2 separate regions of the Homo sapiens genome follow, and region 1 is linked to region 2. Evidence: promoter capture Hi-C in 16 types of primary human blood cells and fetal thymus (Javierre and others, 2016). All regions are on one chromosome and are shown on one strand. The core of a region is centred on a gene start or on the middle of the fragment in contact, and the rest is flanking DNA. Distances in the headings are between cores, read along the strand shown.

What was found. Contacts are between HindIII fragments. The CHiCAGO score rates a contact against its expected background, and 5 or more counts as called.
Region 1: a contact is called between a fragment that was not itself captured here and the fragment with the promoter of CADM1 in region 2, in 1 of 17 cell types (M0 macrophages). The highest score is 5.2, in M0 macrophages.

What each region holds. Positions count from the first base shown.
Region 1 is chr11:116,087,382-116,091,584 of GRCh38, reverse strand. No RefSeq gene overlaps it. Among named protein-coding and RNA genes, the nearest start is that of LINC02703, 170 kb to the right of the region's middle. The HindIII fragment of the contact is 1,561 bases long and covers 2,098-3,658 here.
Region 2 is chr11:115,502,091-115,506,367 of GRCh38, reverse strand. CADM1 (cell adhesion molecule 1) reads left to right here and starts at 1,953. Exons shown (of 12, transcript NM_001301043.2): 1 at 1,953-2,097. The coding sequence starts at 1,974. RefSeq lists a silencer at 1,768-1,927. The HindIII fragment of the contact is 6,395 bases long and covers 1-4,277 here.

The DNA.
Region 1 (4,203 bases), core at 1,629-4,128, 580 kb before region 2:
CAACCCGCTAGGCAAGACCCTTAGACCAGCAGAAGCGCTAGCTAAATGTGAGGGGAATCTAGAGTGGGTGGAAGTAGAAGATCATGAACAGCAGTCATGGCCTTGGGCACATGCAGCAGGGCTGTGGTTCAATCTATTAACCTTCCTTTTGCACCAACCTAATATGTCTCCAAGGAAATTGTGATCTTTCAGAATTCTGAGGTTGCTGTATCTGGGTGGAGTGAACTTAGTGAAAGAAGAAAGTGGATTGGAGCTGTGCAAAGGGTGAACTGCAGTAGACACTATTGGTGCCCAACCCAGATGCTCTTTAGCCCCTGCAGATATTGGCCAGCTGGCTTGGGCGACCACAGTCCCTGGGAGTTTATCTCAGACAATGATTGACTGTCACATGTGGGTCAAAGGTCCCCAAGGTGGGGCTAACTCTGGGGTAGGGGGATTTAGAGCTCTTGGTTAGAGCTTGCCCATGGCATCAGAAGCAAGTCTAAAGCTACTTTTAGCTGAGACACATTTTCACTTAGCTCCCCATCTCTCCTGCCTTCTCCTTCCCCCTCACTCCTAAGAGTACATCCTCCAATCAATCTTCCTCAATAAATCACTTGGGCAAGAATCCCTACTCAGGATTCACTTCTAGACAATATACACATGTGTGTGTGTATTTGTTATTTTTTAAACATAATACCTCTTTCTTCAACGCCACCATCCAGTGTACACCTCACAAACCCAGTTGTCACATTTGCACTCCCTGAATTGTGTTCATTGATTACGCGACCCACAGATATCTAAGCCCAATTTACTGTATGGTTTCTCATACTTCAGTTAACTAATTCCAATCTACATTTTTTGAAGGATGGAAAATTTTGCACTAGGAAGATTTTACTAGTTCAAACTGAGTCAGTGGAGTCGCATCACATAAATGAACTTCAACTTCCTGAATTTCATCATAGAAAGTCAGACAGAGAAAGAGGGAGAGAGCCTTTTATTTACCTATTGTCCTCTCTTCCACAGCTCAAAATCAAAGAGAAATAAAAGGAATTAATTTTTTGGCTTTTGAGCTTCTGAGAACCCAGCTCTTGTAGATTTTCAAGGAGAATTTTGGCAATACCTATTTTTACCTTGCATGTTTGATTTTAAAGCAGGCTTTCCTGCTTAAGATAAAACTCAACTGTGATAAGCTATTGAATTATTCTATAACCTAGACTCTTCATTTCAGAGTAGGCTTCCCCACTTTGGTCTGGATTAGTGAAGTTTGACTACAAGTGGACAGCAAATGAATTGCAAATTATATGTAAATGTGTATAAATTAGCACCAGTTATTAGAATAATTTGCATTTACAGCTCTGTAATTAGGCAGCAGCTTGGGAGAGAAGGGCAGTGGGCAGGGGACCCAGGAAGCTGGGAAGGCATCCCAGAAGTCCTGGGGTCCCCACCTCTATGTTAATGAGGCTCAGTTTTCCCTTCCTTAGGCCCCTTAGCACAAGACTTTGAGGATCTAAAACCTGTACCCTGGCTTTTGGATTTCTGGTTCTTGCTAAGATTCTTCATGGCTGCTGCTCAGGGGCTTTGGCCTCTCTGGCTCAGTGTAGCATAGTGACAGGTCATGGGATTTTGAGCATAGAGGTCTTAGATCTATTGCTTTCAGGGTAACTTTGGCCAAATTACTCTCTGATCCTTAGTTTGCTCATCTAAAAATGGGGTTTATAACAAACACTTACCCCCATACTATCAACCAGTACTATGGGGTTCACATGAGATTCTGTATGTGACCCTTATTAACCTTTACATGCATTTGATATAACAGCTGAGTTCATCTAACTAGCCCATGGCGGATCCAGGATTTAAAAGTAGGTTTGTCTGGCTTTAAATCACCTTTGTATCACCACGTCCCATGGCCTTAGCAGGAAGCATGCATGAAGAACAATTTATTCCCACACCATTCGCTCTCCTGGCCCTGCCTGGCCTCCTGCATCACTTGGGTGCAGGTATCTGTTGGCCAGGGATTGGCCCTTAATGCCTTTGCACCCTGTCCTTAAAATACTTCCTGGTAGAATGTGCTTTGGTGTGTGCCCAGCTCTTGGAGCCCATGTCTGTCTATAAGCTTATCTTAAGCATTTCTCTCTCTTTCCCTTTAGCCTGGAACAAGAGAAACAGCATAAAGCCCTCACCCACTTCTCTGTAGCCACCCTTAGATAACCCCCACCTTAGTTGAATGAGGGTAGCTGCAGAGGCACAGGGAGTTGGAAAGAATGTATGATGAAAACATGATCACCTATTTGCCTGTGGAATGAATCAGATAATATTTTTAAAGAAAATTTGCCACTTATTGTTATGAAAACACATGTCTGTGCTCTGAACCCAGCCTGGAGGATGCTCAGAGGAGGAAAGGTACTGAGGGCTAGGGGTCATCCCCAAGCAGATACTAGAGAAAGATCACAGGATCTAGGTTAATAATCAAGTACTGGTTCCTGCTCTGGGAACTTGTAAGCCTTCTGAGCCTTCTTGTACCCTTCACAGAGTGACTGTGAGGATGAAATGGGATTTTAGATGTAAAATGAATTTGCTGTCATTTCATTATTATCAAGAACACGCAGCACAGACCAGTCAGATCAGTTCCTGACCATCCCTCCATCCCTCAACACATATGCCATGTGCCAGTGGTGGAGAACTGCTGGTCATTCTAATCATCTTTAATCATGCTGCCATCTTCCTTCAATGGCTTTTCCTGCTTCATTTGCTTGGCCAGTGTCTACTGATTAATTAATTCATTGAATAGATGGATGTTTATTGAGCACCTACTATATGCGAACCACTATGATGGACACAGGTGACACAATGGTGAACCAAATAAAGATGGTTCCTGTCCTCATGAAGCCTATATTTTCTGAACCATTTAATACTCAGCTTAAATATGAAAGCCCTTTCTTGACATCTATTCTCCCTTAATAGTTTGAAGCACCCCTCCTTTTTGCCCTGCCAGTGTCTAAGGTTGTCTATGCTAGTGCCTTTAACATTGCACTAACTCTTGCACATTGTACTCCCTCTCTCCTCTCTTGCCCTCTCCCTCTTCACTTTGCCTTATCTCTTTCCTTTCTTCTGCTGTCTCCCTCCTGCTGGTAGCCATCTTCTTTGTCCTTCCTTGGAATTTATGAGGCCAATCCTTGAAATGAGAAGGTGACCACTTTCAAACAGATAAAAGAAAGCCCTTCTTTTCCAAGCAGATAATTAATTTGTGTCACTTGCTGGTCATGGAACATAATTGAGGCCAAGGGCTTAAGAAGGCCCTGAGAAGGAATTAGACATGTAGTCACACCAGGGGGAATGTATCACTCACTCTGCTTCCCCATCCCTGGAGGGTGAGGTTAGCGAGCCCTGCTCGAGCTGGGTGGCAAAGAGCTTCTCAGCCTATTAAGGGGCCTGGCCAGGCACAGTGTTCACTTACCACATAGTGAGCAGAGATAGAGCTTTCTGGCACCAGAGATGTGTAGTCAAAGATGCAGAATAAGACTGAAGCCCTGGATTCAAGTCCCGGGTCTGTCATTTTGCTAGCTAAATGATTCAGACACATTTCTTCTCCTCTCAAAGCCTCCAGTTCCTTGAAATCCAGGACTCCTGTGTGCTGCTCCTCCCTGGGCTGTGAGAGGCTCAGGAACTGTAGTAAGCTTGGGAGGATGAGAGAAGAGAAAAGGAAAGAGATAAGGCAAAGAAGGGAAGGAGAGGGCAAGAAAGGAGAGAGGGAGAAGGGTGTGCTAGAATTAGTGCAATGTTGACAGCTCAGCAAGCTGTAGACCTCAGGAAGGACCGAGTGCTCTGTGGATACTCATGGTGTCTCATCTTTGGGCGTAGTGAAAGGCTGGACACTGGAGAAGAGAGAATGTGTCCCAGAAGCTGAAAGTCTGACACTGGTCTTGGCTAAATGAAGCACGTTGCAGGCATAGGGTAACCTGAGGTGAGATCCTGGGAGCAGAAGTGATCTCAGCATCCCCTAGTTCCGTGCCTACATCCAGCACTAACCAGCTATGAGGTCTTGGCAAGTGCTTTTTCCTTTCTTGACTCTCAGTTTCTTCATCTGCAAAATAGGCATTGGGGGTTGGAGCAAGGAAAATTGTACCCAATCATGATTTTGTAAAGCATATTCCTTGGAACATCAGTGAAAAAATGTAAGGAAAAACAAATTCCAGGGGAAAAAAGAATTCAAGGAAAAGTTTG
Region 2 (4,277 bases), core at 704-3,203:
TAGAGACGGAGTTTCGCCGTGTTGGCCAGGTTGATCTCGAACTCCTGACCTCAGGTGATCCATCTGCCTCAACCTCCCAAAGTGCTGGGATTACAGGCATCAGTCAGCGTGCCCGGCTGGCCTTAACTTTTTTATTCCAATTTTGGTGGAACTTTGCTCTCTATTTGGTCCGACCCAGGTACCTCACTGCCAGAGGTAGTAAGAACGGGTAGGACTTTGCAGACTGGGCATTATCCTGGCACCCACGTGGCAATGGTTTCCTGTCTCCTGTAGTGCTGTTCTCCTGTTGGAGCTTTCCCCACTTCTGAAGGACTGCCTGCAGTTCATGCATCGGGGCCTGTAATTACAGAGCAGAATATCCAGGGCTGTGAAGACCGGGCAGTCTCGAAATTAGTTTATGCATAATGGATAATAGGAGGCTGTTTTTAAGTGTAACTCATTTGGTGGGTTGGCAGATCATGACTTCCTTTTTGATATGTATTATTTATTTATTTTATAGCAAGATGAGGACAGAAGGCTGGGGAAGTCATTTGGCGCAGCTCTTCTAGACTATAGCTCAGACTTAGCAATTTACATTCAGTAATCTCTTGGTCATTTAGCCACAGATAATTTGTCATGGTTTGTTTTAGCTGTTGTGATATTGATATTTATTATGCAAATTGTATTTCCTACATCTTATTGTTCTGCATTCTATGAATACTTAAATTATTATAAACCTTTACACTTAATATGGCTCGTCCTTCAATTTGATGCTTGAGCAACAGAGGGTCAGAGCGCACACGATCTTCTAGAGGGGAAGAAAATAAGTAATTAAAAAGCAGACAAACAAGAGAGCCGGCTGCCTGGCTGAAAAGAAAGCAAAGAGAATTTCGGGGAGGGAGAGTGAGTCCGGAGATGCAAGTCGCTTTAGCAGGAGAGGCTCTCCCAGAGACAGGGGAAGCTCGGAGCACCTGTTGGTCCCCAGCTTCCTTAGGAAGGGCTGGGGGCGCAGAGGAGGAGTGAGAGGGTTTGAGCCCCGAAGGAGGAACACGGCAGACCCTGCCTTCACCACACTCCCTCTCCCCAACTCCCACCACCCCCGCTCTTCACCTGAAGCCTTGACTAATTTTTTCCGTTGTTGTGTAATCTTAAATATCTAATATTACAAATATTTCACACATATATTCAACACACACCTATATATTAAAACCAGGGAGGAGACCCTCGACAAGCGGAGGAGCCTGAGCATACCCTCCTCGATCTACCTTTCCCGAGATTCTGCCGCAAAAAGACCGACTGGAAAATCTCAGAACCCGACTCTACGGCTGCCTTCTCCAACTATCCCCGAGTCTACCGCTAGGCTGTTGAGCGGGCTCTCCCGCTCCGCCGGACGTGCAAAGCACGCATGCACTTCTCCCAGATTGTTTTGTCAATCCGGGGACCTGCCTTCTTACTCTCCACTCCCGCACAGCCCCCGTTCCCAAAGATCTATTCCTTCGGTGCAAGGTGAGTGACGGAAATTTGCAACGTCTGGTTCGCTAGGCCAGATGCACTCGGTGTGCGGGACAGAGGACCCTCTTAAGGGAGATTCTCCAGTCGTCGGTCTGATACAGCGATTGCTATAAACATTCCTAATAAAGGTGTACAAGAAGCTAGACCCGCCCCCTGGAGCCCGAGTCCTTGCACGCCAGGCGCCCGGGAGAACACTTTTTCCTTGATCCGGGGAAAGCAAAACCCGAATTTTAACATAAACATATTTGCATACGCCCCTCCCCTTGGCCCCGCCCCTAGGTGGCGCGGGCGCGCCGCCGAACGCCAGCGCCAGGGGGCGGGGTGGGGGAGGGAGCGAGGCCCTCCGAGAGCCGGGTTGGGCTCGCGGCGCTGTGATTGGTCTGCCCGGACTCCGCCTCCAGCGCATGTCATTAGCATCTCATTAGCTGTCCGCTCGGGCTCCGGAGGCAGCCAACGCCGCCAGTCTGAGGCAGGTGCCCGACATGGCGAGTGTAGTGCTGCCGAGCGGATCCCAGTGTGCGGCGGCAGCGGCGGCGGCGGCGCCTCCCGGGCTCCGGCTCCGGCTTCTGCTGTTGCTCTTCTCCGCCGCGGCACTGATCCCCACAGGTAGGTGTGGGCACCGACCGGTTGGCCCCTAAATCTCCGAAGGCACCCCAGTAGCCTTGGCCACAGAGGGGGGAAACGTTTCCATGACAACCTCCCCCCACTTCCTACATCCGAAGCGGAGGGAGTGTGGAGAGGAAACTCAGGGCTGAGAGGGAAGGGGCTGAGGGCATCTGTGAGCCCCTTCTCCCCTGCCCGGCTAAGTGTGAATGAGAGTCCCCAGGGATGGCTGCACCCACACCTTCTCTCCCCGGCTTGGCGCGGGGTGCAGAGTGGAGTGAGAATGGGGGGCCCGGGGGCTGTAAAGCATGGGGGAAGGGGATGGTTCAAAGACAACCTCAACCCTTCCGGACCCTTCTAAACTCGCCGTTCTCCCCGTAACTTGCAGGTCCTCCCACCTCCCAGGGCTGTCCATTCGCCCCCACCTCTCCAGAGGGCCCCCCCAGTTCTCCATCCCCGAAGCCTCCTGGTGGCTGACTCCCAGCCGCCCGCGGCGTGATTTCTCCCCGGTCCCCAGGACATCCCCAGACTTGTCTGATCTCCCCTGCCCCTTCCCCCAACGCGCTCTGCCTTTCTCCCCTGTCCCCAAACTGCACGCCTCTCGTGTTTCCCTCCGGCCGTTCGCAGCCCTCCGCCCCCTCGGCTCTGCTGCGGGTCTTTTTGGCCCGGCTCCAGGCGGGGAAAGTTCCCCGGCCCGGCCCCGCGGGGGGGGCGGCCGCTGTCGCCGCCTCTGCGGGAAGGCGCCGGGAGCCCGCAGCCCGCCCGCCCCACAGCGTCCTCTGCCACGAGTGGGGACACGGGATTTCCCGGCTGCCCGTTCTTTCGGCGGCCCGAGGGTGGCGGAGGGGGCGTCGCGGCCTCTGCGGCCAGGCGGGCACCCTGCGGGCCTCCGCGCGCTCCCTGCGTGAAGAGCAGTCTTGGGAATTTGCCCAGGGGCGGCTCTGCACGCCCGGTGCCTTCCCTGAAGACACCGAGCACTCGGCTGGAGCCCGATGTGTGGCTGCCCGTGTGCCGGGCGCGTTGGCGCGGTCGGGAAAGAAGAGGGCAGTGTTTGCTTTTGCTAACAAAAGGGAGCCGGAGCTCTTCCTCAGCGGAGAGGCCGGCTGTGCTGCACCCAGCCTCCCTTCCCGCCACCTCGCCGCGCTTGGCAGCCGCGCGGCGTCCTCTGGCCCCTGCTGCAGGCTCCAGGCGGGCGCCGGGACCGAGTGGCACGGGGCCGCGGGGTGCGAGCGGCGATGCAGGAGGGGATGCAGCAGGGCTCTGAGCCTGCAAAGCCCCTCCTTGCAGCTCCAGAGCTGCAGGACCCGGGAGCAACAAGTGGCGGAGGACGCCGAGAGCTCAGCCCCCACCTGCGGAGCCCCAGGCCCGGGCGGGCACAGCGTTGGGGCCACGGTGCTGCTTCAGGGGCGCCTCTCCGCTTGGGCTGTGCCTTTTGTTTACACGCTAGAGGACACACAGTTATGTAAACACCGCAGGAGACACGCTGTAGGAGACGGGGGATGTGTGGGGGTGCTAGCTTGAGATTTGGGGGACGCCGGGTTGGCTGCTTGCCCCCAAAATAGGCTTGCAAAGGAGCTCGGCTTGGGAAACCTATTGGGGGGCGTCTGGCAGCAGCGTCAATTCCAGCGCTGAGGGTTTTTTTCCTCCATGCCACTGTCTCCGGATGTTGTTTATGTGTTTTTCCTCTGTGAATTCTTAATTTATGAGTTACGAGATAATTGGGTTCAGCCGATGCCGGTGTGGTTACAACTTCATTTCAGGTGATGCCTCTGACTGGATGGGTTCAATAAAATGTTCCTGAAAGAGATCCCTCGTGCTGCTGCATTGTAAAAAGCGCCAGTGTCAGTTAAACGTGAGCGTGAGTAAAGGCTCGGTAACTGGCGCATAATAGAGGCAACAATAGACTTGTATTGGCTGCAAAAAAAAAAAAAAAAAAAAAAAAAAAAGCCGGGGGGCGGTGGAAAGCTGTGGTCGGGGATATTGCTTTTTGACTAAAAATGGGAGTCGTGCAATGACGCTTGGCAGCAGAAGTAGGATTAGATTATGCCTCCCCTGTCAAGACTGCTCATTGAAGGCACCGGGTAGTAGCAACGGTACTATATTTGTAACTATCTCGCGGTGAGAAGTTGCCTTCCCTGCGAGGGATATATGCTGACTTAGGAGCGGTCTGGAACTCAACCGTG